Regions from separate parts of the Homo sapiens genome. Here regions 1, 2, 3, 4, 6 and 7 are each linked to region 5. Evidence: promoter capture Hi-C in 16 types of primary human blood cells and fetal thymus (Javierre and others, 2016). All regions are on one chromosome and are shown on one strand. Each heading gives the region's core, a stretch centred on a gene start or on the middle of the fragment in contact. The rest is flanking DNA. Distances are from core to core; before and after follow the strand shown.

Region 1 (3,685 bases), core at 1,161-3,660, 1.7 Mb after region 5:
CTGGAAAGAAGTAGCTGAAGATATTAAAAGTAGTTATATCTGGGTTAAGAGTGTGTTGATGATCGCTGTTCTTTTTGCTATTCCACCTTTTCTAAATTTTCTACTATGTGCATATATTGAACTCAGAAAAGCAAACAATAAAATTTTCTTTAAAGTTATTAATATTAGGCAAAGCAAATAGCTCAAATGTACATTTGTGATAGTCCTCTTAGCCTATGACATGTTGAGTAATGTATTCTAGTTTGGTTTTCCTTGTTAGCCAGATTTCATTATTTTGCAGCTTAAGTTGTTTATTTCTAGTTCCTTAAGGTGGGGAGGAGGTGAGGAGGTGAGGAGGGTGAAGAAGCAAATTCCACTTCAGTAAAACAGGGCGTGCAGCCTTTTCCCCTGAGTCCCTTTGTCTCAAGGCCCCTGTGTTCCGGGTCTTTTGTTGTTCTCTGCATGGACTTTGATTCGAGATTTAAAGAAAAACAAGTGCTGGCCCTCCTTGCGCCCTCTGGTGTCCCAGTGAGGTATAACCGGACAAACCGCACAAAGATCACAGCCATTTTCACACAGCGCTCCCCCGACACAGTGATGCCTGGAGACGGGAATGTCTGGAATCTTAGAGGAAGGAATCACACACCGACAAGCATGGCAGGCTTAGTCTTTGAAACTTAATCAGAGCCTGTAAGTATGGATACTGTTTTTTAAAAAATTAAAAGCAGTATCTGGACTGCAAGTATTTAAAAAACCTAATAGGAAATAAGTCAACTCTCAAAGCATTTGGCACAGCTTTCTGGGTTCTAAAACTAAGAAAATCTTACTACATATGTTGTTTTATAAATACAGCATAAACCAGTACTTTGTTATTTGTTTTAAAAATTTCTTTTAGAGACAGGGTCTTGCTCTGTCACCCAGGCGGGAGAGCAGTGGTGCAATCTTAGCTCACTGCAGCCTTGAATTCCTGGCCTCGGGTGATCCTCCATGCTTCCGCCTCCCAAAGGACTGGGTTTACAGGTGTGAGTCACTGTGCCTGGCCTAGAACTTTGGATTAATTGCAAATAAATTAGGTGAAAGAGAGGTCTGGATACCTAGGCTTTAGCTTGACTGAGGATAATGATTTCCGCAACTTTAAGCTTTACCATGTAGACCAAAAATAAAATTCTAAGCTCCCCAATCAGTTGAATGGATGCCTCCTTGTCCAGGGGCATTCCAAAGTTACCTGAAACGCTAGTTCATGTCATGATGGGAACAGGTGGTCAGACAAGCCTCATTATACTCTCCTCCCTTTGGGACAGAGTCCCTTTGGGATTCAGGCACATCTGACCAGCATTAACATAAGTCTGACAAAGAAGGCTTTTTGTAGCAGTAAGATACCAACATGACAGACAGCAGGCCCTGAAGTAAATTGAAGTAGTTTACCCCAAAAAATATATATATATTTTTGACACATTTTGAAATGGCCCTGCAAAGGTGTCTCTTGTGGGGAAAATCTACTTTCAGTAGAGAATCCCCTTCCCTTTCCAGATATTTTTCCTTAACCAGGAGAGAATTTACTGAGAGTCTTGCACCTTAAAAAGGTAAAAAATAAAATTTTTGGCTGGGCATGGTGACTCACGCCTATAATCCCAGCACTTTGGGAGGCCAAGGCAGGTGAATCACCTGAAGGTCAGGAGTTCGAGACCAGCCAGGCCAACATGGTGAAACCCCATCTCTGGCTAATACAAAAATTAGCCAGGCATGGGGTGGGGGTGTGGGCGCCTGTAATCCTAGCTACTTGGGAGGCTGAGGCAGGAGAATTACTTGAACCTGGGAGGTGGAGGTTGCAGTGAGCCGAGATCACACCATTGCACTCCAGCCTGGGCAACAAGAGCGAAACTTCGTCTCAAAAAATAAAATAAAATAAAATAAAATAAAAAAAATAAATAAAAATTAAAAGTTTTACAATCTGACCTGGTGCTGTGGCCCACTCCTGTAATCCCAGCACTTTGGGAAGCCGAGGCAGGTGGGTTGCTTGAGCCCAGGAGTTCGAGATAAGTCTGGGCAACACGGTGAAACCCTGTCTCTACTAAAAATACAAAAATTACCAGGACGTAGTGGCGCGCATCTGTAATCCCAGCTACTCCAGAGGCTGAGAGGTGCGAGGATGGCTTGAGCCTGGGAGGTTGAGGCTGCAGTTAGCTGAGATTGCACCACTGCACTCCAGCCTGGGTGATGGAGTGAGACCCAGAAATAATTACAATGTGTTCTTTCTGAAGCCTGCTACCTGGAGGCTTTATCTGCATAACAAGAACCTTGGTTTTCGCAACCCCTTATCTTAATTCAGGCACTCCCTTCTATAAATTTCAGGTCTTTAGATAAACTCTTTCAACTAACTCCCAATCAGAAAATCTTTGAATTCACTCATGATGTAGAAGCGCCCCATCCACCCTCACTGAACCAATGTACATCTTACATGTATTTTTTGATGTCTTCTGTCTCTCTAAAATGTGTAATAAAAAGCTGTAGTCCGACCACTTTGAGCACACGTTCTCAGGATTTCCTGGGGCTGTGTCACTGGCCATGGTCACTCATATTTGGCTCAGAATAAGTCTCTTCAAATATTTTACAGAGTTTGACTCTTTTCTTCATCGACAATCAATATGTGAGAGTTGATACTGAAGGTCCCTTTTGTCTATAATATACTTCATTCTATCGCATTTTTCACCAGACTGTTTTGTTTGGTTTTTATAGAGATGAGATCTCACTTTGTTGCCCAGCCTGGTCTCTTGGGCTTAGGAGATCCTCCCTCCTCAGCCTTCTAAAGTTCTGGGATTACATGTGCGAGCCCCCACCCTCAAACTGTGCCTTTTTTTTTTTTTTTTGAGCCCGAGTCTCACTCTGTCACCCAGGCTGGAGTATAGTGCCACGATCTCGGCTCACTGCAACCTCCACCTCCCGGGTTCAAGCATTTCTCCCTGCTTCAGCCTCCCGAGTAGCTGGGATTACAGGCGTCCGCCACCATGCCTGGCTGATTTTTTTTTTCTTTTTTTTTGTATTTTTAGTAGAGACAGGATTTCGCCATGTTGGCCAGACTGGTTTTGAACTCCAGACCTCAGGTGATCTGCCTGCCTCAGCCTTCCAAAGTGCTGGGATTGCAGGTGTGAGCCACTGCACCTGGCTAAACTGTGCTTTTTAAAATTGTATTTCCACTAAAAAAATGTAGATGTAAAATATTTTTGGTTTAAATACTTGATTGATAAGATCTCAGGCGTGGTGGCCCATGCCTGCAATCCCAGCACTTTGGGAGGCTGAGGCGGGTAGATCACCTGAGGTCAGGAGTTCGAGAGCAGCCTGGCCAACATGGTGAAACCCCATCTCTACTAAAAATACAAAATTAGCCTGGCATGGTGGCATGCGCCTGTAATCCCAGCTCGGGAGGCTGAGGCAGGAGAATTGCTTGAACCTGGGAGGTAGAGGTTGCAGTGAGCCGAGATCACACCATTGCACTCTAGCCTGGGCAACAAGAGTGAAACTCCATCTCAAAAAAAAACAACAACAAACAAACAAACAAAAAAACCTCAGGCATTACAGTTTTATTTGAATAGGCAATTCATGCACACAGAACAAAGTTCAAAAAGTACCAGATACCAGGAGGTATAAGGTATGGAGAGGAAAGTCTTTCTCCCATTTTTTCTTCTCTTTTCTTTCTTTTTTTTTTTTT
Region 2 (3,483 bases), core at 865-3,364, 1.7 Mb after region 5:
CACTGGCAAGATGCAAGATGATTTTAGGTGGTACATGGATAAGCTTTCAAATGATTTAATCATCATTTACTTATACTGGGTTGAATAATCTCCCTCTCAAAATTTATGTCTAACCCGAACCTCAGAATGTGACCTTATTTGGAAATAGGGCCTTTGCAGATGTAATTAAATAAGGATCTTGATCTCTGGTATCTTTATAAAAGAAATAAGAGGGATATTTGGACACAAAGACACACAGGGAGAAAAAGGTCATGTGACTATGGAGATAGAGATTGGAATGATGCCTATAAGCCGAGAACACCAAGAAGCCAGGAAAAAGGCATCAGACAATTTTTCCCTGAGAACCTCCAGAAAATCAACACCTTGATTTTGGACTTCTGGCCCCCTGAACTGTAAGAGAATACATTTCTGTTGTTTTAAGCCACTTGGTTTGTAATGATTTGTTATGGTAGCCCTAGGAATCTAATGCATTTATTTATTTATTTTTGAGACATGGTCTCACTCTGTCTCCCAGGCTGGAGTGCAATGGCAAGATCACGGCTCACTGTAGTTTCAACCTCCCAGGCTCAAGAAATCCTCCCACCTCAGTCTCTTAAGTAGCTGGGACTACAGGCATGAACCACCATGCCCAGCTAATTAAAACAATTTTTTTTTTTTTTTTTTTTGTAGAGACGGGGTCTCTCTATGTTGCCCAGACTGGTCTCAAACTGTTGGGCTCAAGCAATCCTCCTGCCTTAAGCGATCCTCCTGCCTTGGTATCCCAAATTGCTGGGATTACAGGCGTGAGCTATTGTGCCTGGCCATTTAAAAATATATTACACAAAATAAACATGATGGTGTTATAAAACCTGTGATTTCTGAGTTGCTAGTGTTTAGACTAATAGTCCCTAAATTTATTTAGGCAGCAAAAAGTGCATTGATTAAAAAAATTAAGTAAGTAATTTCATAGGAGGTAGGGAGATATTGCAAAAATGCTGTGGGTGGTTCATGGCTGGATAAGCAGTTTGGGAAAACATTGCTGTTTGCAGCCTGTGGCTCCTTCAACCTGTAGTGGCATGGTGGGAGATCTAGGTCAACAGCGATCTGCATTCCTAATAACTCTGTGACTTTGGATAAAATATGAATAATAGCCTTGAGAAGCCCCATCTTCCTCAGCAGTAAAATGGGAACAGTAATAAATATCTCACAGGACTTATGTGGGGATTGAGTTCCTTTTCCTTCAGCCTTGAAATATCAAAAGCTTAGTTATCTGAACCAGCTCTGCTGAGTGTGGGGGTGGGGGTGGGCTCCTGGCAGCTGGGTTGATGTACAAAAGAACATTTTGTAATCATTGGCCTCAAATGTGGGTTGCCAGTGATAAATATATAGGGCTGAGCAATATGGGAAGTGAATTGCGATAAAGTGGTAGGAACTGATGCAAAGAACCTCTGATGAATCACAGCTGAAGTCAACTTTCTATTATTTCTGGGTCTTATGCATTTAATGAGTTACAATGTCCTTCATTTCTCCCTCTTCAATATGATCATGTCACAGTTCATAAAAGTGAGGGAAAGAACTCTAGATACAATCTGACTTCTATCTTAGATGTAGGAAAAACCTTTGTAAATTCAATGTTAATTTCTAGAAACACTCTAGGATGGTTTACTAAGCAGATGATATGTGAGCACTTAAAAGAGAATATTTTTTGATCATCAGGAGTTGCATGGATTTTCTGGGATTCAGAATTACTTTGACCAGTCTAAGCACTTGGCTGAAACCAGCAAGGTGAAATGGAGAGGGAATAATAGAGCTAAAATCTACTGTTTCCTAGCAAATGGTTAGGCACTGTGTTAGATGTTATCTCATTTAATCAGCGCTGAAACTCCTGAGTGTAGATATTGCTATTAAAATGCCTTTTTTTTTTTTTTTTGAGGTGGACTCTGGCTCTGTCACCCCGGCTGGAGGGCAGTGGCAGAATCTTGGCTCACTGCAACCTCCGCCTCCTGGGTTCAAGCAATTCTCCTGTCTCAGCCTCCTGAGTAGCTGGGATTACAGGCACCTGCCACCATGCCTGGCTAATTTTTGAATTTTTAGTAGAGATGGGGTTTCACCATGTTGGCCAGGCTGGTCTTGAACTCCTGACCTCAGGCCACCCACCTCAGCCTCCCAAAGTGCTGGAATTACAGGCATGAACCACTGCACCCGGCCGATATTACTATTAAAATTCTTATTTTACAGATGGGGAAACTGACTTGATGAAGTTAAGTGACTTGTCCCAGATTTTGTAAATAGAGATTAAATAGTTCATTCAAGATCATCGAACAAGGCAGTCTATCCCTAGAGCTGGCACTCTTTTCTCTCTCTCTTTTTTTGAGAAAAGGTCTTGCTCTGTCACCCAGACTGGAGTGCAGTGGCATGATCATGGCTCACTATATCCTCGACCTCTCAGGCTCAAGCAGATCGTCCCACCTCAGCCTCCCAAGTAGCTGGGAGCTGGGACTACAGGTGCACACCACCATACCTGGCAAATTTTAAAATTTTTTGTAGAGATAGAGTCTCCATATGCTGCCCAGGCTGCCCTAGAACCCCTGGGCTCAAGTGCTCCTGCCTCGGCCTCCCAAAGTTCTGGGATTACAGGTGTGAGCCACTGCACCCAGCCTGGAGCTTTTGTTCTTTTTTGTGAGATGGAGTCTCGCTCTGTCCCCCAGGCTGGAGTGCAGTAGTGCGATCTTAGCTCACTGAAACCTCCGCCTCCCAGGTTCAAGCAATTCTTCCTGCCTTGGCCTCCCTAGTAGCTGGGATTACAGGTGTGCGCCACCATGCCTGGCTAATTTTTGTATTTTTTAGTAGAGATGGGGTTTTGCCGTGTTGGTCAGGCTGGCCTTGAACTCCTGAGTTCAGGTAATCCACCCACCTGGGCCTCCCAAAGTGCTGGGATTACAGGCGTGAGCCACCAAGCCTGGCTGAGCTTTTGTTCTTAACCTCTGTATTGTGCTATGTGAAAGCTTAAAAAATGTAGAGACCAGGAGCAGTGGCTCATGCCTGTAATCCCAGAACTTGGAGAGGCCAAGGTAGATGGATTGCTTGAGCCCAGGAGTTTGAGACTGGCCTGGGCAACATGGCAAAACCCTATCTCTACCAAAAAAAACCTCCCAAAACCAGAAAACACAACAAAAATTAGCCAGGTATGGTGGTATGCTCCTGTGGTCCTACCTACTCAGAGGCTGTGGTGGTAGGATCGCTTGAGTCTGGGAGGTTGAAAGACTCTGTCAGAAAAAAAAAAAGTAGAAACACAGGAAGGGGAAGAGGGTTCCTAAATGGTACAAGAGAAAGAACTTGGTCTTTGGTGTCAGGCAGGTCTTGTTACAACTTTGGCTGGCTCTGCCATTTAGCAGTTAGTTGACCTCAGGCAAACTACTTAAACTCTACAAACCTCAGATTTCTCATCTGTAAAGTGGATGCAGTAATATATACCCCATAGAATTCCTGGGAGGATTAAGTATG
Region 3 (3,767 bases), core at 248-2,747, 1.7 Mb before region 5:
TGGGGTCTCGCTATGTTGGCTAGGGTGGTCTCAAACTCCTGGCCTCAAGCAATCCTCCCACCTCAGCCTAGCACTCCCAAAGTACTAGGGTTTTTTTTTGTTTTCTTTTTGAGACGGAGTCACGCTCTGTGGCCCAGGCTGGAGTGCAGTGGCACCATCTCGGCTCACTGCAAGCTCCGCCTCCTGGGTTCACGCCATTCTCCTGCCTCAGCCTCCCAAGTAGCTGGGACTACAGGCACCTGCCACCACGCCCGGTTAATTTTTTGTATTTTTAGTAGAGATGGGGTTTCACTGTGTTAGCCAGGATGGTCTCAATCTCCTGACCTTGTGATCCACCCGCCTTGGCCTCCCAAAGTGCTAGGATTACAGGCGTGAGCCACCGCGCCCGGCCTCAAAGTACTAGGATTACAGACATGAGCCACCATGCCCAGCCAGAACAATATAACATTGAGGTCAGTTTACAAAAGACAAAACAAAGGTGAAACATTTACAGAGAAAACAAGCAGCAGGGAGAGCTATAGGAGATTTTGTCTTCTTTTACATGTTTTGTACTAAGAATATAATAGTTTAAGAAAATAAAACTAAACTTTAAAAACAAAAAGAATATTAAAATGCATTTCAATCATACATGAAAGCAAATATTTACTATTAGCAGTAGGTTTTTTTGATTCTCAACTATATTTATGTAAAATTTTTAGCCAGGTTCTGCGGCTCACGCCTGTAATCTCAACACTTTGGGAGTCCGAGGCAGGTGGATCACTTGAGGTCAGGAGTTCAAGACCAACCTGACCAGCATGATGAAACCCTGTCTCTACTAAAAATACAAAAATTAGCTGGGCATGGTGGCATGTGCCTGTAATCCCAGCTACTCAGGAGGCTGAGGCAGGAGAATCACTTGAGCCCGGGAGGCAGAGGTTGCCGTGAGCCGAGATCGTGCCACTGCACTCCAGCCTAGGTGACAGAGTGAGTGAGACCCTGCGGCTGGGCTGGGTGCAGCAGTTCACACTTGTAATCCCAGTGTTTTGGGAGGCTGAGGTGAACTCAGGGGTTTGAGACCAACCTGGGCAACACAGCAAAACCCCATCTCTATTTACCCTAAAATTAAAAAAAAAAAAGAAATTATTAAGTGCAGTGGCTCACACCTGTATTCCCAGCACTTTGGGAAGCTGAGATGGGGGATCACTTGAGGCCAGGATTTGAGACCAGCCTGGGCAACATACTGAGATCCCATCTCTCAAAAAAAATAAATAAATTTAATTAGCTGGGCATGGTTGTGCTTGCCTGTCATCCCAGCTACTCAGGAGGCTGAGGTGGGAGGATCACTTGAGCCCAGACCTCAAGGCTGCAGTGAGCTATGATTACACCACTGCACTCCAGCCCGAGTGACAGAGTGAGATCCTGAAAAGAAAGAAAGAGAGAGAGAGAGAGAAAGCAAGCAAGAAAGAAAGAATCTTCTTTAGAGTAACCCAGTCCACACAGAAAGTAATTCACTGGTCATTTCCACTAGAAAGAGATTAGTCTGACTAGCTGGTTATGATCTTATTGTAGTCTTGTTACTATGGTTACTGAAGTCGCAGTGATGTGCTTGCTGGTGTTGAACATCTTTGGAAGTTATCATTGTGGATGCTGCCACTTACTAGTGAAATGTGTTGACTCTGTTGCCATATTCTGTCATTTGGACAAGGAATTCAGGCAAGTTGTAGGCCCATGTCCACCGTGAACAGATCATTCATTTATTTATTTTACAAGCGTTGCTGAGTCCCTACCCTGACAGAATGCTGAGGGGCACAATGAGGATTTGAAGTATGAAGCACAGACCCTGCCCTGAAAATGCTCATTCAAGAGATAAGTACACACATGAGGATTTTAATTAAACCGTGATGTTAAGTACCATGAAATTGTGAAGTCTCACATTTATAGAGGATTCAACAGTCCAATCCTATGAGATGGGTAATGCCAAATAAGGGATAAGAATTTACTAACAGGAAAAAAAAAAATCCATGAAGGGAGTTGGAGTGATTTCTGAGGTTCCAGCTTAAGAGGCTGGGAGAGTAATGGTGCCATTGATGGAGGCACAGAAGTTAAAACAGGGAGATGATTTAGGCACAAAAGATGGTGAGGGCCGGACGTGGTGGCTCACGCCTATAATCCCAACACTGGGAGGCCGAGGCAGGCAGATCACTTGCAGTCAGGAGTTCAAGACCAGCCTAGCCAACATGATGAAACCCCATCTCTACTAAAAATACAAAAATTAGTCGGGTGTGGTGGTGTGTGCCTGTAATCCCAGCTACTCGGGTTGCTGAGGCAGGAGAATTGCTTCAACCTGGGAGGCAGGAGGCTGCAGTGAGCCGAGATCACACCACTGAACTCCAGCCTGGATGACAGAGAAAGACTCTGACTCAAAAAAAAAAAAACACGGTGAGATGGTGAGATGTTTGCTTTAGACCCCGAATGTATTGGCTAGTTTTCATTTGCTCCCAGATTCATTCCCATACCCTTTGCTGACCACATGGACGGTTTTACACAGACTCTCCTAACCTCTGGTTTCAACCAATGGGAGGCACCAGGAAGAGATCAAAGGGGTGTTTCTCTCCTGCCTAGCTGCATCCCTTCTCACAGTGCTGCATCCCTCCACTATGGTAGGGCCTGTCATTTAGTTTCCTTCCCACGGCTCCAGCTCTCACCATGCTTACATAACACCAGTTTCTTGATGACATCATCAGATATCTCACTGCCTTCTATAAAATTTCTTTTTTTCCCTCCTTCTTTTTTTTTTTTTTAGAGATGGAGTCTCACTGTGTCCCCCAGGCTGGAGTGCAGTGGCGCAATCTTGGCTCACTCCAGCCTGTGCCTCCCAGGTTCAGTAGATTCTCATGCCTCAGCCTCCTGAGTAGCTGGGACTACAAGCACCCACCACCACACCTGGCTAATCTAGAAATTTTCTTGAAGACATTATAGTTGCCATGAAATAAAATGTAGAAGTAAAGCAGAGGGCAGAGGTCTAGTCTATGTGAACTGAACCACCACCTAGAAACGGCAGGAGGTAGACTACAACCCAGAAAAGGAAGTCATCAAAGATCTTCCAGAAAAATCAGAAACGTATTCTGTCCTGGACACCAAAGTAAGACAACATTTCAAGAAAAGATTATTGAAGACATCCAATACTGCAGGAGGGTCAAGGAGAAGATAAACCAAAATATACTACTGGACTTGTTAGTTAGGATTCACTATATCCACTGCATTTCATTATTTCAGACGTTAGTTTTAATAGAAGCAGGAGTAGATGCCAGGTTGTTGAAGGTTAACCAAATTTAAAAAGTGGGCAGAGGGTTTGAAGAAGACTTTTCAGCAAAGAAAGCACACAAATGGCATGCACATATAGTGGCACTGTTCACCTATAATGAGTTTATTTTATTTTATTTATTTTGAGACAGGGTCTCACTCTGTTGCCCAGGCTGGATTACAATCTAGTGTCATGATCACAGCTCACTGCAGCCTCGACCTGCTGGGCTTAAGCAATCCTCCCACCTCAGCCTCCCAAGTAGCTGGGACTACAGGTGTGTGCCAACATGCCTAGCTAATTAAAAAAAATTTTTTTTTTGTAGAAATGGGTCTCACTATGTTGCCCAGGCTAGTCTGGAACTCCTGAGCTCAAATGATCCTCTCTCCTTGGCCTCCCAAAATACTGGGATTACAGATGTGAGTTACTGTACCCAGCTAATGGGTCAATTTTATAGAATCTTGTTTTGTGTGTGTATATGTGTGTG
Region 4 (3,628 bases), core at 15-2,514, 2.0 Mb before region 5:
CTAATAATTTTTTAGAAATTTTACTGTCTATGGAATCTAAAAATCTGGAAACTACTGACATATAAAATTAAAATAACTCATCAGAATGTCATTTCAATATCTAGCCCAACAGACCCATTGAAGCTAATTCTACCCTTCAAAAATCCTCTTCTCTAGTCAAGCCAGTATCTTTGCCAAGTTCATACCATGACTTTGATTCCCCTGAACCCTTCTTCTGAACTGACTTTCCTCATCATACCTCCTCTACAGCCTTCTCTTCCTTTATCTAAAATCTATCTAATATCACAAAGCCTTTCCTTACCACTCTATCCTACATTCATCCTTCTCTCATCTGAACACCTCTAACCCTTAATCTACGGCTTAAATCCAAACGCTAGTTTGGCTCAAGCTACCTAAGTAAGAATCACTTTGTGGAAATTTTTTAAAGGCAGTTTCCAGTATCCCGGTGCAGATTGGAAGAATTTCCAGGATTGGGGTACAAGAGCCAGTAGTTTTTAAAAGTTTAGGGAATGAAAAAAGTCTTATTAAATAAAAATAATTTGACCACAATAATAATAGTTACATGTTTATCCTAAATCTTCCTATTAAACATCAAATATGCATGTCCCGTGTATAACCATACATAAGAGCTTAATTTTGAAATAATTCATTTCAAATTCTATCATAACATTCTGACACAGATACACAGAGGCATTTGTGAAAATGGTGTATTATCACAGAAGGGCACATAATGTAAAGAAATTAATATTCTTAAGCTTAAGTTTATTCAAATGGGCAGCAATGAAATTTTGCTTTAAAAAAACAAGTTAACCCAAATATAGTTTACCAACCTGTTTGTTGTTCTCCGCCATAGAAAGCTGCAATGCCAAGAGCATGGAGTCTGCACCACATAGAGTAGTTCTCTCAGAGTTACAAAGAGCACGCCAATTTTTTCGAAACTCTTTAATCATATCCGAGACAGACTTCTGATTAAACACAGCCATTATCTTAAAGTAGGACAGAATACAAAGTTAAAGTATCTTATGTTAACCTGAAATTAACATTTAACATGTATAGGCAAGCACAGATAGAGAAAAACATATAGTGAATGAGAGGTCATTTCATATTTACCAAGATTGCTTTTAATTAAATTTAGGAAAACAAAATAATACAATTTCTGCGCAATCATATTTCCCTCCCCTTTGGTTTCTTAAGCCAAACCTTCTGAAAGAACAAAATGTAGCCTTCAATTCTGAAAATTCACACAAAAACAGACATGCAAATTTACTGCAAACTTATAATTACAAATATACCTAATTAAAGCTGTATTTAAATATATATATTTGTTTTGAGATAGGTAATAAGTCTGATAAATTGGGAAAAAAAAAAAAAAACCTAAAAAGCCAATTTCCTCCCATCCTACGTTGTCCCAAAAGAGGTGGCCTATTTTTCTACCCTTTTGAATCTGGACCAGGCTTGTGACTTGATTTAACCAATAGAATGTGGCAAGAATGACGCTGTGGGAGTTCTGAGCTTAGGCCTTAAGTGGTGTGTGCAGAAGTACTAATACAATAGGCCTGAATGCTCTCCTTTGAAGCTGGAGTCCAGTTTGGGAGCTTAGATTTCAGGAGTGTTTCCAGTAAGAGTGGTTCACTGTGCTAAACTGTTCATACAAACAATATAGTTTATGCTAAACACTTGCGAGTCTGGAATTTTGGTACATGTCAGACAGTGGATGCCTTTGCATTTAGCCCCCAATAAAAACCCTGGGCATTAAGTCTCTAATAAGCTTCCCTGGTAGACATTTCACATGTGTTGTCACCACCTATTACAACAGGAGGAATTGTGTCCTGTATGACCACTAGAGTATCACCAAGCAGTGTCCCACCCAAACTGCTGATCCACAGAATCAGAAGGAAATGGTTATTTTAAAACCTTAACTTTTGAAATGGTTTGTTACACCGTACTACATAACCAATAAAATAACTAATATTTAGGAGCTAACTTGGTGGAGATACTTTTCAAAAGCTTAATATTGATTACCTCACTCGACTGTCATAAGTGTCCAATAAGACAGGTCTGTTATTATCCTTATTTTACCTAATAACCTCCACGTCACTCAGCTTGTAAGTGGACAAACAGCATAAACTTAATATGTCTAACTCTATAAGCTGTGTTCTTAAAGCATCATGTTAAGTAACTTCTCCTGATGCACACAAAAGCCTTTCAAAATAATTTGAGGTAGTGCCAATGTTTCATATACCCAAGACTATATAAGGCATCCAATTCCTTTCTCTGAGTTTACAGACATGCCTGCTAAAAGTTTTTTTCCTACTTTAAGTACTCAAGTCTCAACATACTCACATGCCCATCATCTTATTTTGGGTATTTTCCTGTACTTATTCCATTTCCTGACTCCTTCTGCTATCCTTTTCTTCTATTTTTATGTGGCATAAACAGAATCCTAGATGTTTACTTTGGTTTGTATAATCAAGAGCAAAGATACATGCCACTTGCAATATAATTAAATTATAGACACAATCTATGATGCAACTTAAAGATACAGGTAGAAGATTAGAGATTAATTATTTACATAAATGCAAATCCTAGTAAATAGCTAAGAATTGTATTTCTCTTCAAAAAATCACCCTCATCTCTTGAAAGAAAAAAGAAAGTGAAGAACTGTCAGCTTCAGTGACATGGTCACTTTGCCTGAAATACATTTTTAGGAGTAAATTACTTACTGGTATTATTTAAAGGTAGTATTATGAGATTTGATTGCTATGAATGAAGACTCACTTGGGAATTAGGCCATTCTGAAATGTGGCTCCACCACTTACTGGCTGCGAGATCTTGGCCAAGTTACATCACCTTTCCCTGCCTCAGCTTCCTCATAATGAAAATGAAAACCCTATCCCATAGGGTTTTATGACAAGTCAACGACATAAACACAAGTAAAGCTTTTAGAACAGTGCCTGGCATGTATAAAAGCACATTAGCTATTATCATGCATTATGAGTTTCTAAGTTGTTTTGAGTTAAAAGTAAAAGAGCATTGCCTGGGCATGGTGGTTCACACTTGTAATCCCAGCACTTTGGGAAGCCGAGGCTCACCTAAGGTTAGGAGTTCGAGACCAACCTGGCCAACATGGTGAAACCCTGTCTACTAAAAATTAGCTGGGTGTGGTGGTGTGTGCCTCTAACCCCAGCTACTTGGGAGGCTGAGACAGGAGAATCGCTTGAACCAGGGAGGCGGAAGTTGCAGTGAGCCAAGATAGCACTACTGCACTCCAGCCTAGGTGACAGAGTGAGACTCTGTCTTAAAAAAAAAAAAAAAAAAAAAAAAAAGAGCATTACTATGGTGACAGAAAACCAAGAGTCTCATTCAGGGATCAGCTAATTTTTTCTAAAGGAACAAACAGTAAATATTTGAGGCATGCACAACTACTCACTTTGACCTTCTAGTGTGAAAATAGCCATGGACATACATAAACAAACAAATGAGTATAGCTGTGCTCCAATAAAACTTTTTTTATGGACACTGAAATTTGAATTTCATGTAATTTTTACACATCACAAAACATTATTCTTTTCATTTTTTCCCCCAACCATATAAACACGTAACACTCCTTCTTAGCTCAGGAGCTGGC
Region 5 (3,495 bases), core at 462-2,961:
CACATGCTGGGAGCAGATTTCTGGCCAGCAAAAGGAAAGTGAGGTCTAGAAAATGGAAGTGAGGTACAGAAACAACTGGATTGCTTACAGCTCAGTGTTTGCCTTATTTGAACACAGTCTGAACAGTTGGCTACATCTGGCCAAAACTCAGTGATTGGCACAGGTGTGGGCTATGGTCGGTTTATACCTCTGCTTATTTTCATAAGTTCATGATGTACAGAAAAACCTTTAGGCTGAACTCAATTACGTAAGGAGGCAGTGTTAGGCTAAACTTGACTTAACACTGAGTAATTTTTTTTTTTTTTGAGACAGTCTTGCTCTGTCGCCCAGGCTGGAGTGCAGTGGCTTGATCTCAGCTCACTGCAACATTTGCCTCCCGGGTTCAAGCAATTCTCCTGCCTCAGCCTCCTGAGTAGCTGGGATTACAGGCGCCCGCCACTATGCCCAGCTAATTTTTGTATTTTTTTTTTGTAGACACAGAGTTTCACCATGTTGGTCAGGCTGGTCTTGAACTCCTGACCTCAAGTGATCTGCCTGCCTCGGCCTCCCAAAGTGCTGGGATGACAGAAGTCGTCATTTTAATCTCTGAAAATGTTAGCTCTGTTTGGGATTGGGTGGGGTGGAGGTGTAGAATTGTAACAGTTTTCCCTAGTTCAACAATTTCCTTCCTTCCTTACAGAACTTTTCATATGATATTTACACCTTTAGGTTCAACCTAGTGAAGTGGGTAAGGCTGATGATTAATCTATTTCACAGATGATTAAAATGAAACTAATAGTAAAGAAATTATTTTCCCCAGGATAACACAGCTAGAAAATACCAGAGCCAGGACTTGAATTATACACCTTCTAATTCCTAGGTCCTAGACTACTAGGAACCATTGTCAACCTTTACTTCCCTTAGAATAGCAATAACCAAAGGAAACATTAAATTGCCACATTTAGGTAAGGGAAAGGCAGGACACCTTAACAAAAGAAAAAAAAAAAACACCAAAAACAAAAACCTAAGGAAGAATATGAAGAAAGGTGAGTAGGTCAAGAGAGCAAAGCAAGCACAGGAGTTAATGGCCGATTCTTAAAACATTCTAAGGAGGCCGGGTGCAGTGGCTCACGCCTGTAATGTCAGCACTTTGGGAGGCTAGGAGGGTGGATCACGAGGTGAGAAGTTCGAGACCTACTGGCCAATATGGTGAAACCTCGTCTCTAATAATACAAAAATTAGCCGGCCGTGGTGGTGCGCACCTGTAATCCCAGCTACTCAGGAGGCTGAAGCAGGAGAATCGCTTGAACCCTGGAGGTGGAGGTTGCAATGAGCCGAGATCGTACCACTGGACTCCAGCCTGTGTGACAGAGCAAGACTTGTCTCAAAAAAAAAAACAAACAAGCAAAAAAATAAAAAACATTCTGAGGAAATGAATAAGGGAAGTAGGACGTGGAAGTAAAAATCAGCGACGGGTCAGCGATGGAGGCGGGAACACCAGCAGAGGGAAGGAGGGAGGATTAAGGCCAAGAAGGATGGTGTATTGAGAGTCAAGGGCCCTGTGTCGCGAGGGCTAAGAACCCTGGCGCCAATGCCACAAACCTCCCGCCCCCGCCCAGAGCCCAGCCAGAGCCCAGCCAGAGCCCGCCCAGAGCCCGCCCAGAGCCGGCGTTGGCCCCGCCCCGCCTCGTGCCGGCCCCGCCTGGAGCCGCCCCGCCCCCGCCCTCCACCGAGTCTCTTAGGTGATGCTGCAGCCAAGATGGCGCCCGCGGCGGCCGTGGCGGCCTGAGCGTGATGCTCCGGGTTCTCGGCGGCGGCTGTGGCCTTGGCCGGGGCCTTGGGTCTCTCCCGGTCGTGAGCGATCAGCGCCTCTCCGCCGGCCGGGCTAGCCGGGACAGAGAGGAGACGGCCACGAAGAGAGGAGGCAGTGAGCAACAGGACGAGACCGCGGCGTCTCCAGCCTCGGTACCATGGCCGGGATCATCAAGAAACAAATCTTGAAGCACCTCTCCAGGTCAGTGAGCGCCTCGGTGTCGGCGCCAGTCGGCCTCCACCCCAGCCCGCACTGGAGTCAGCCTGCGGCTTCGGGGGCGGCGGCGCCTGGCGGCTGTGCGGGAGGCGACCTTCGGACTTCCCCGCTCTGGCCGGGGCAGAGGTCGCGGCCCCGGATCTCTTGTCGCCGGCGGCGCCGGGGGCTGGCCTCACGAATCGGCCCCTGACGCGTCTTCTCCCAGGGTGGGCGCGCGGAGGAGCCCGGAGTGCGGAGCGCGGCGGGCTGGGATCGCTCCCGGCGCGGCGTCTGGGGGCGTCCCGGCTCGGCTCTGTGCGGTACTGAGCGGAGGCTGGAGGTGGCCTGGCGTCACCCAAGTGCCTGGTTAATGTGCTGGGCTCTAACTCGAGTTCGGTGCTCCTTCCCCTTGGAGCAGAGCGGTTCCGTTAACCGAGGGCTTCTGGCGCAGTGTGGACGCTCAGTGGAGGCTGTGTTCTCAGTGGAACGTTAACCTTGTGATTGTTCTGAATTCCTCCCACCTTGGCGTTCCCGCTCTGTGGCATCAGAGGGTGTGCCTGTTTGCACAGTTAGGATTTGTTTTAGGTAAATAAGCAGAGTTCGCAGCTTTGGCAGGTTCTTTCTGGAGTCCTATGAGACCCACATCATTATTACTGAACATTTTTTTTTTTTGGTTTTTGCTCTTTTTCCTCTGCAACTCTAAAATTCAGGGAGTTAACATCTGTGGTGATTAAACCCAAGACATGTCATTCTCTCCATTTCATAACGCGGTTTTAGTCAGAAACATGACTCAGTAAGGCTGGCAGTTTGTTACTGCTCTTGGCTTCTCCGTGTTTGTCTCAAGACACAGGCTAAATGTAGGCTCTTGTTCCAAGTTGTTACCAGCGAACTCAAAGCCCTTGGTTAGGATCCCTTTCTGTTCGATTTGTAAGTTAATTTTAACTAATTTTGGGAAGACACGGGTATGATTATAGACTTGTATAGTAAACATAATTCTTGATTCCCCAGATTGTCTTATACCACAGGTTATATATTGGGAACAGAATTCTACTTCTGTGATTCAGCAAATATTTTCCTCACTTATAATACTGAATAAGATATAGCACTTTTCTTAAAAGTAGCAAAGTATAGCAGCGTGTGTGTGTGTGTGTACATATATATACATATGTACATATATACATATACATATATACACATATATACACATACATATATATGTGTACTACATATATATGTGTATACACTACACATATATATGTGTATATATGTAGTATTTTTTTAGTAGAGACTGGGTTTCACCAGGCCAGGCTGGTCTTGAACTCCCAACCTCAGGTGATCCGCGGTCCTCGGCCTCCCAGAGTGCTGGGATTACAGGTGTGAGCCCCCACGCCCTGCATGAATATGTATTTCTTAATGTTATCACTCATTGAAAAGTTTCTTTTAAAATTATATATATGGCCCAATCTTGAACTATCTTATTTTGGAAGGTTTTATCTATTTTTAATTTA
Region 6 (3,335 bases), core at 314-2,813, 1.6 Mb after region 5:
CCGGGAGGCAGAGGTTGCAGTGAGCCGAGATCGTGCCACTGCACTCCAGCCTGGGCGACCGATCAAGACTCCATCTTAAAAAAAAATAATAAGAGGGGCCAGGAGCGGTGGCTCACACCGGTAATCCCAGCACTTGGGGAGGCCAAGGCGGGCAGATCACATCAGGAGTTCGAGACCAGCCTGACCAACATGGTGGAAGCCCCTCTCTACTGAAAATACAAAAGTTAGCCGTGCCTGGTGGCATGCGCCTGTAATCCCAGCTACTTGGGAGGCTGAGGTGGGAGAATCCCTTGAACCCGGGAGGCGGAGGTTGCAGTGAGCTGAGATGGCACCATTGCACTCCAGCCTGGGCAACAGAACGAGACTCGGTCTCTCAAAAAAAAAAAAAGTTTAGCTCCCTTAAGCCATTTCTGATAATTTATTCTAAAGATAAAATCAAATGTGGAATTCATTTATAAAGGTATTTATTGCTTCATTTATAATGGTGAAAAAAATAAAAAATCTCTATCTCCAATAGTAAGGAATTGGTTGTTTATGATATATCCATATGACAAAATAATGCACAGTAGTAAAAAATCATGTTTTGACATTTAAGAATATGAGGCTGGCTTGGTGGCTGTCACCTATAATCCCAGTACTTTGGAAGGCTGAGGTGGGAGGATCCCTTGAGCTCAGGAGTTTGAGACCAGCCTGGGCAACATAGGGAGACCCCAGTCTCTACTAAAAATAACCAAAAATTAGGTGGGGCCGGGCACGGTGGCTCACGTCTGTAATCCCAGCACTTTGGGAGGCCGAGGCGGGCGGATCACCCAAGGTCAGGGGTTCAAGACCAGCCTGGCCAACGTGGCGAAACCCTGTCTCTACTAAAAATACAGTAATTATCCAGGTGTGGTGGTGGGCACCTGTAATCCCCAGCTACTTGGGAGGCTGAGGCAGAAGAATCACCTGAACCTGGGAGGCGGAGGTTGCAGTGAGCCAAGATCTCGCCATTGCACTCCAGCCTGGGCAAGAGCGGAACTCAGTCTCAAAAAAAAAGAAAAAAAAAAAATTAGCTGGCATGCTGGTGTGCTCCTGTACTCCCAGCTATTGGGGAGGCAAAAAAAAAAAAAAAAAAAAGAAAAGAAAAGAAAAAAAATAATATACATCAAAGTGGAGTACTTTCTCTTGGATAGTGAGGCACAGGTGATTCTTATTTTCTTTTTATTTATATGTCTGTATTTCCCTAGATTTCCACAATGAACACATATGATTTTAAAACCATATTTTTCTTTTTAAGTGAGAGTGCTAAGTTGGAGAACCATTTGGCTTATCAGAATTCAGGTCTGCATTTCAATTCTGCGTGTCCAAAAGCTCAATTTTATTAGTTCGTCCAGAATACATCGCTCTGTAAACCAAGAGAATCGGAGACAGGTCTCAATCAATTTAGAAAGTTTATTTTGCCAAGGTTAAGGACACACCCATGACACAGCCTCAGGAGGTCCTGACGACATGTGCCCAAGGTTGTGTGGCACAGCTTGGTTTTATACATTTTAGGGAGACATGAGACATCAATCAATATGTTTAAGATGTACAATGGTCCCATCCAGAAAGGCGGGACAGCTATTAATACAAGTGGGGGTTGGGGGGCTCCGGGGTGTTCCAGGTCATAGGTAGATAAAAGACCAATGGTTGCATTCTTTTGAGTTGCTGATTAGCCTTTCACTGAATACACTATTTACAGGAATAGTCACTTATGTTAGTCTGGCTTAGGGAAACAAAAGGGCAATCAGATATGCATTTATCTCATATGAGCAGAGGGATGACTTTTTAAATCTCTATCTGTCCTTTGTCCACAAGGAATTTCTTTGTGGTCAAATTGTGAGGGAGGTATATATAGCTTTTTTATCTTAGTAGCTATCTTTTTTTTTAGGAGTAGAATGGGAGGCAGGTTTGCCCTAAGCAGTTCCCAGCTTGACTTTCCCTTTGGCTTAGTCATTTTTGGGGTCCTGATGTTAGAGGGGTTTGAATCACAGCACCTCCATGTTGAAAAAAGGGTGGGTAAGGCCGTGCACGGTGGCCCATGCCTGTAATCCCAGCACTTTGGGAGGCCAAGGTGGGTGGATCACCTGAGGTCGGGAGTTTGAGACCAGCCTGATCAACATGGAGAAACCCTGTCTCTACTAAAAATACAAAATTAGCTGGGCGTGGTGGCACATGCCTGTAATCCCAGCTACTCAGGAGGCTGAGGCAGAAGAATCGCTTGAACCCGGGAGGCGGAGGTTGTAGTGAGCCAAGATCGCGCCATTGCAGTCCAGCCTGGACAACGAGCAAAACTCCGTCTCAAAAAAAAAAAAAAAAAAAAAAGAAAAGACCTACTGGGCTGCATTCCCAGACAGTTAAGGCATTTTAAGTCACAAGACGAGATAGGAGGTCGGCAGAAGATACAGGTCATAGGCCGGGCACGGTGGCTCACGCCTGTAATCCCAGCACTTTGGGAGGCCAAGGCAGGTGGATCACGAGGTCAGGAGTTCGAGACCAGCCTGACCAACATGGTGAAACCCTGTCTCTACTAAAAATACAAAAATTAGCTGGGCGTGGTGGCGCGTGCCTGTAGTCCCAGCTACTCAGGAGGCTGAGGCAGAAGAATTGCTTGAACCTGGGAGGTGGAGGTTGCAGTGAGCTGAGATTGCACCACTGCACTCCAGCCTGGGCGAGAGTGAGACTCTGTCTCAAAAAAAAAAAAAAAAAAAAAAAAAAAGACACAGGTCATAAAGACCTTGCTGGTGAAACAGGTTGCAGTAGCCTGCCAAAACCCACCAAAACCAAGATGGCGATGAGAGTGACCTCTGGTTGTCCTCACTGCTACACTCCCACCAGCACCATGACAGTTTACAAATGCCATGGCAATGTCAGGAGGTTACCCTATATGGTCTAAAAAGGGGAGGCATGAATAATCCACCCCTTGTTTAGCATATAATGAAGAAATAACCACAAAAATGGGCAATCAGCAGCCCTCTGGGCTGCTCTGCCTATGGAGTAGCCATTCTTTATTCCTTTACCTAATAAACTTGCTTTCATTTTATGGACTCGCCTTGAATTCTTTCTTGTGTGAGGTTCAAGAACCCTCTCTTGTGGTCTGGATTGGGACCCCAGTAACACCGAGATTTTTCTTTCACAGGACTTAAGTAACTAAAATACTCTCAGAAAAGAAAGCAAGGCTATTAAACAGGTGAAATAAATGCTCAGAGCATTCTATAGTAGTGGATAAGTCCTCTTGCAAGAATACATGAATAGACATTTCTTAGTGAAATAGAACAAATCCACAGAGCTGTCTTTTCTAGACAGGTCCATGTTTC
Region 7 (3,401 bases), core at 771-3,270, 1.9 Mb before region 5:
GAAATTTTGTATCCTTTAACCGCATCTCCCCAATCCTCTTAACCCCAAGCCCCTGCTAACCACCATTCTACTCAATATTTCTATGAGTTGTACTTTTTTATCCTCCATATATAAGTGAGATCATTCAGTATCTGTCTCTGTTTGACTGGCTTATTTCATTTAACACAATGTCTTCCAGTTCATTTATGTTGTCACAAATGACAGGATTTCATTCTTTTTTAAGGCTAAATAGTATTCCATTGTGTATATATACCACTTTTTTTAATCCATTCATCCATTGATGGACACTTTTGATTCCGTATCTTGGCTATTGTGAATAATGTTGCAGTGAACTTTCAAGTACAGATGTCTCTTGAATGTACTAATTTTACATCCTTTGGATATATACCCAGAAGTGGGATTGCTGGATCATATAGTAGTTCTATTTTTAATTTTTTGTGGAACCTCTGTACTATTTTCTATAATAGCTGTACTAATTTACATTCCCACCAACAGTGTACAGAGGTTCCCTTCATCACATATATGGTTTCCAAATATAGTCTCCCATTCCATAGGTTCTCTTCACTCTATTGATGGTTTCGTTGGCTGTGCAAAAGCTTCGTAGTCTTTTAAAATAATTTTTAAAAAATAATTTAAAATCCAGATTCTACAAACTTCTTAGTGTGATGTAATCCCATTTATTTATTTTTGGTTTTGTTACCAGTGCTTTGGGGTTTATATCCAAAAAAAGTCATTGCCCAGACCAATGTCGTGCAACTTTCCCCTTATGTTTTCTTCTAGTAGTTTTACAGTTTCAGGTCTTACATTTAAATCTTGAATCCTTTTCGTGTTAAATTTTTTTATATGGTAAAGGATGAGGGTCTAATTTCATTCTGCATGTGGATATCCAGTTGTCCCAAAATGATTTATTGAGACTGTTATTCTTAACATCTGTGAAAAGTATGTTTCTGTAACTGTCTTTTCTGTGTTCTTAACATCTTTCTCAAAAATCAATTGACTTTAAATGCATGGATTTATTTCTGGGCTCTTTATTCTGTTTCCTTGGTCTATGGCTGTTTTGATTACTGTAGCTTTGTGGTAGATTTTCAAATCAGAGAGTGTGATCTCTCTGGCTTTGTTTTTTTGGCTTAATATTGCATTGCCTGTTCAGGGTCTTTTGTGGTTCAGTATGAATTTTAGGATTTTTTTTTCTATTACTGTGAAAATATTATTGGAAAATTGATAGGGATTGCATTGAGTCTGTAGATTGCTTTGAGTGGTGTCAACCTTGTAACAACATTCATGTTTCCAATCCATGAACACACGTTATCTTTCCATTTATTTGTGTCTTCTTCAATTTTTTTCATCAATGTGTTATAGTTTTCAGTGTACAGATCTTTCACCTCACTGGTTAAATTTACCCCTATGTATTTTTTTTGTAGCTATTGTAAATGAGATTTTTTTTCTTTTTTTTCAGATAGTTTACTTTTAGTGTATAGAAATGCTACTGATTTTTGTATGTTGATTTTATATCCTGCAGCTTTACCAAAGTAGTTTGTTAGTTCTAACAATTTTTTGGTGGAATTTTTTATAAGATTTTCAATATATAAGAGCATGCCATCTGCGAACAGAAACAATTTCATTTCCTTTTTTCCAATTTCAATGCCTTTTATTTTTCCCTCTTGTCTAATTACTATAGCTAGGACTTCTAGTACTATGTTGAATAGAAGGGGTAAGAGTGAATATCCTTGTCTTGTCCCTCATCTTAGAGGAAAAACTTTCAGTTTTCACCATTGCGTATGATGCTAGCTGTGGGCTTGTCATAAATGGCCTTCATTGTGTTGAGCTAGATTCTTTCTATACCTAATTTGTTGAGAGTTTTTATCATCAAAGGATGTTGAATTTTGTCAAATGCCTTTGTTCCATCTATTGAGATGATCATACGGTTTTTGTCTTTCATTCTGTTAATGTGATGTATCACCTTTACTGATTTGCATATGTTGAACCATCCTTGTATCCCAGGGATAAATCTGACTTGATCCTGGTGAATGACCTTTTTAATGCGCTGTTGTATTCAGCTTGCCAGTATTTTGTAGAGGATTTTTGCTTCTATGTTCACTGGGGATATTGACCTTTGATTTTCTTTTCTTGTAGTGGATTTGTCTGGCTTTGGAATCAGGATAATGCTGGCCTCCTAAATTGAGTTCGAAAGTTTCCCCTCCTCTTCAGTATTTTGGAAGAGTTTGAGAAGGATTTGTATTAGTTCTTCTTTAAATGTTTGGTAGAATTCAGTAGTGAAGGCATCAAGTCCTGGGGGTTTTGTTTAGTGGGAGACTTAACTACTGATTTGATCTCTCTACTTATTATTGGTCTGTTCAGATTACCTATTTCTTTATGATTTAGTCTTGATAGGTTGTATGTGTCTAGGAACTTATCCATTCTAGGTTATCCAATCTGTTGGCATATAATTGGTCATAGCAATCTCTTATGAGCCTTCATATTTCTTTTGTTTTAATTGTAAAGTCATGTTTATTGGAGTATGAACTTATATGCAGTAAAATTTACCATTAAGTATGAGATTGGACAAATGCATAATCATACCATAATCAAGATGTAGAATAGTTGTAGAACAAGATATAGAATCACTCCAAAAATTCCCTCATGCTCCTTTGCAGTCACCCCTTTTTTATCCCTAGGAATGCATTGTTCTGTTTTCTGTCAAAAGGGCCAAATTTAATCACTGCAATGGTCTCCAGTACTGTGGAAAAATTCCTGAGCATACAAAACACACAAACCAAGTTTTTAAAAAATGAGATACTTTTAAAAATGTCTTTAGCATATCAACCAAATGAAGGTAGCTTCATATTTTACTACAGATGCTCAGATATCTTAGGCAGAATTAAGTCCACCATTGCCATATATATGCCTCAACAGTAATATTTAAGAGTAGACTGTAAAAATAAACTTACAATCTTTAGAATCGTCAAAACAATGGGATTATTAAATGACCTTTGTAAGTTAAAGCAAAGTTTATAAAGTTGTCTTACATAGTTGTGAAATAGCTAGTCTAGTTAGATAGAATTAACGTCTCCTAAAACTGACCTGCTTGAAGAACTACTGTAGGTCATGTCTTTGTAGGTAGAGTATGTGAACGAAGATTAAGTACTTGCTCTTTTGTGTTAACACTGTGTCAAGTTTCAGACTGGGGCTGGTTGATAGAAAAACTAGTTAAAAAAAACTATTTTAAATAATGGAATTGAATTTTATGGAAATTCTCTGTGGCACCAACTCAACCACAGGACAGAAACAAAAAATTCTCATCTAAACATTCCTGTAGAAAATTGGGACCATCTAAAAATTCACCCCAGCTACCACCATGAAAGAAACAAAGAAAGCAAAAACTTCTGTTCTGAATATATCAG

Evidence for each region. The method cuts DNA at HindIII sites, captures the fragments that hold promoters and counts their contacts. A CHiCAGO score of 5 or more calls a contact.
Region 1: a fragment that was not itself captured here is called in contact with the fragment with the promoter of BLTP3B in region 5 in 1 of 17 cell types (neutrophils); the score reaches 5.6 in neutrophils.
Region 2: a fragment that was not itself captured here is called in contact with the fragment with the promoter of BLTP3B in region 5 in 1 of 17 cell types (M0 macrophages); the score reaches 7.0 in M0 macrophages.
Region 3: a contact is called between a fragment that was not itself captured here and the fragment with the promoter of BLTP3B in region 5, in 1 of 17 cell types (neutrophils). The highest score is 9.9, in neutrophils.
Region 4: a contact is called between a fragment that was not itself captured here and the fragment with the promoter of BLTP3B in region 5, in 1 of 17 cell types (activated CD4 T cells). The highest score is 8.5, in activated CD4 T cells.
Region 6: a fragment that was not itself captured here is called in contact with the fragment with the promoter of BLTP3B in region 5 in 3 of 17 cell types (activated CD4 T cells, total B cells and naive CD8 T cells); the score reaches 6.3 in activated CD4 T cells.
Region 7: a contact is called between a fragment that was not itself captured here and the fragment with the promoter of BLTP3B in region 5, in 5 of 17 cell types (neutrophils, non-activated CD4 T cells, total CD4 T cells and 2 more). The highest score is 12.3, in neutrophils.

The regions. Positions count from the first base shown.
Region 1 is chr12:98,487,978-98,491,662 of GRCh38, reverse strand. The region is part of intron 3 of LINC02453 (long intergenic non-protein coding RNA 2453); the gene reads left to right. Among named protein-coding and RNA genes, the nearest start is that of TRD-GTC1-1, 14 kb to the left of the region's middle. RefSeq lists a silencer at 838-1,132. The HindIII fragment of the contact is 2,579 bases long and covers 1,121-3,685 here.
Region 2 is chr12:98,462,232-98,465,714 of GRCh38, reverse strand. No RefSeq gene overlaps it. Among named protein-coding and RNA genes, the nearest start is that of TRD-GTC1-1, 40 kb to the left of the region's middle. RefSeq lists a silencer at 1,613-1,986. The HindIII fragment of the contact is 1,744 bases long and covers 1,243-2,986 here.
Region 3 is chr12:101,843,276-101,847,042 of GRCh38, reverse strand. No RefSeq gene overlaps it. Among named protein-coding and RNA genes, the nearest start is that of GNPTAB, 14 kb to the right of the region's middle. The HindIII fragment of the contact is 6,260 bases long and covers 1-3,767 here.
Region 4 is chr12:102,121,244-102,124,871 of GRCh38, reverse strand. It overlaps PARPBP (PARP1 binding protein), which reads right to left. Exons shown (of 11, transcript NM_017915.5): 2 at 831-986. The coding sequence starts at 983. Among named protein-coding and RNA genes, the nearest start is that of PARPBP, 2.9 kb to the right of the region's middle. RefSeq lists an enhancer at 3,286-3,628. The HindIII fragment of the contact is 1,013 bases long and covers 758-1,770 here.
Region 5 is chr12:100,141,090-100,144,584 of GRCh38, reverse strand. It overlaps BLTP3B (bridge-like lipid transfer protein family member 3B), which reads left to right and starts at 1,711. Exons shown (of 21, transcript NM_015054.2): 1 at 1,711-1,993. The coding sequence starts at 1,950. BLTP3B-DT (BLTP3B divergent transcript) reads right to left here and starts at 1,530. Exons shown (of 2, transcript NR_186018.1): 1 at 1,242-1,530; 2 at 1-45. RefSeq lists silencers at 1,547-1,726, 2,047-2,296 and an enhancer at 1,403-2,166. The HindIII fragment of the contact is 10,318 bases long and covers 1-3,495 here.
Region 6 is chr12:98,507,647-98,510,981 of GRCh38, reverse strand. No RefSeq gene overlaps it. Among named protein-coding and RNA genes, the nearest start is that of TRW-CCA4-1, 5.1 kb to the right of the region's middle. RefSeq lists an enhancer at 2,070-2,613. The HindIII fragment of the contact is 8,186 bases long and covers 1-3,335 here.
Region 7 is chr12:102,055,689-102,059,089 of GRCh38, reverse strand. All of the region lies in intron 2 of WASHC3 (WASH complex subunit 3), which reads left to right. Among named protein-coding and RNA genes, the nearest start is that of WASHC3, 4.6 kb to the left of the region's middle. The HindIII fragment of the contact is 2,843 bases long and covers 599-3,401 here.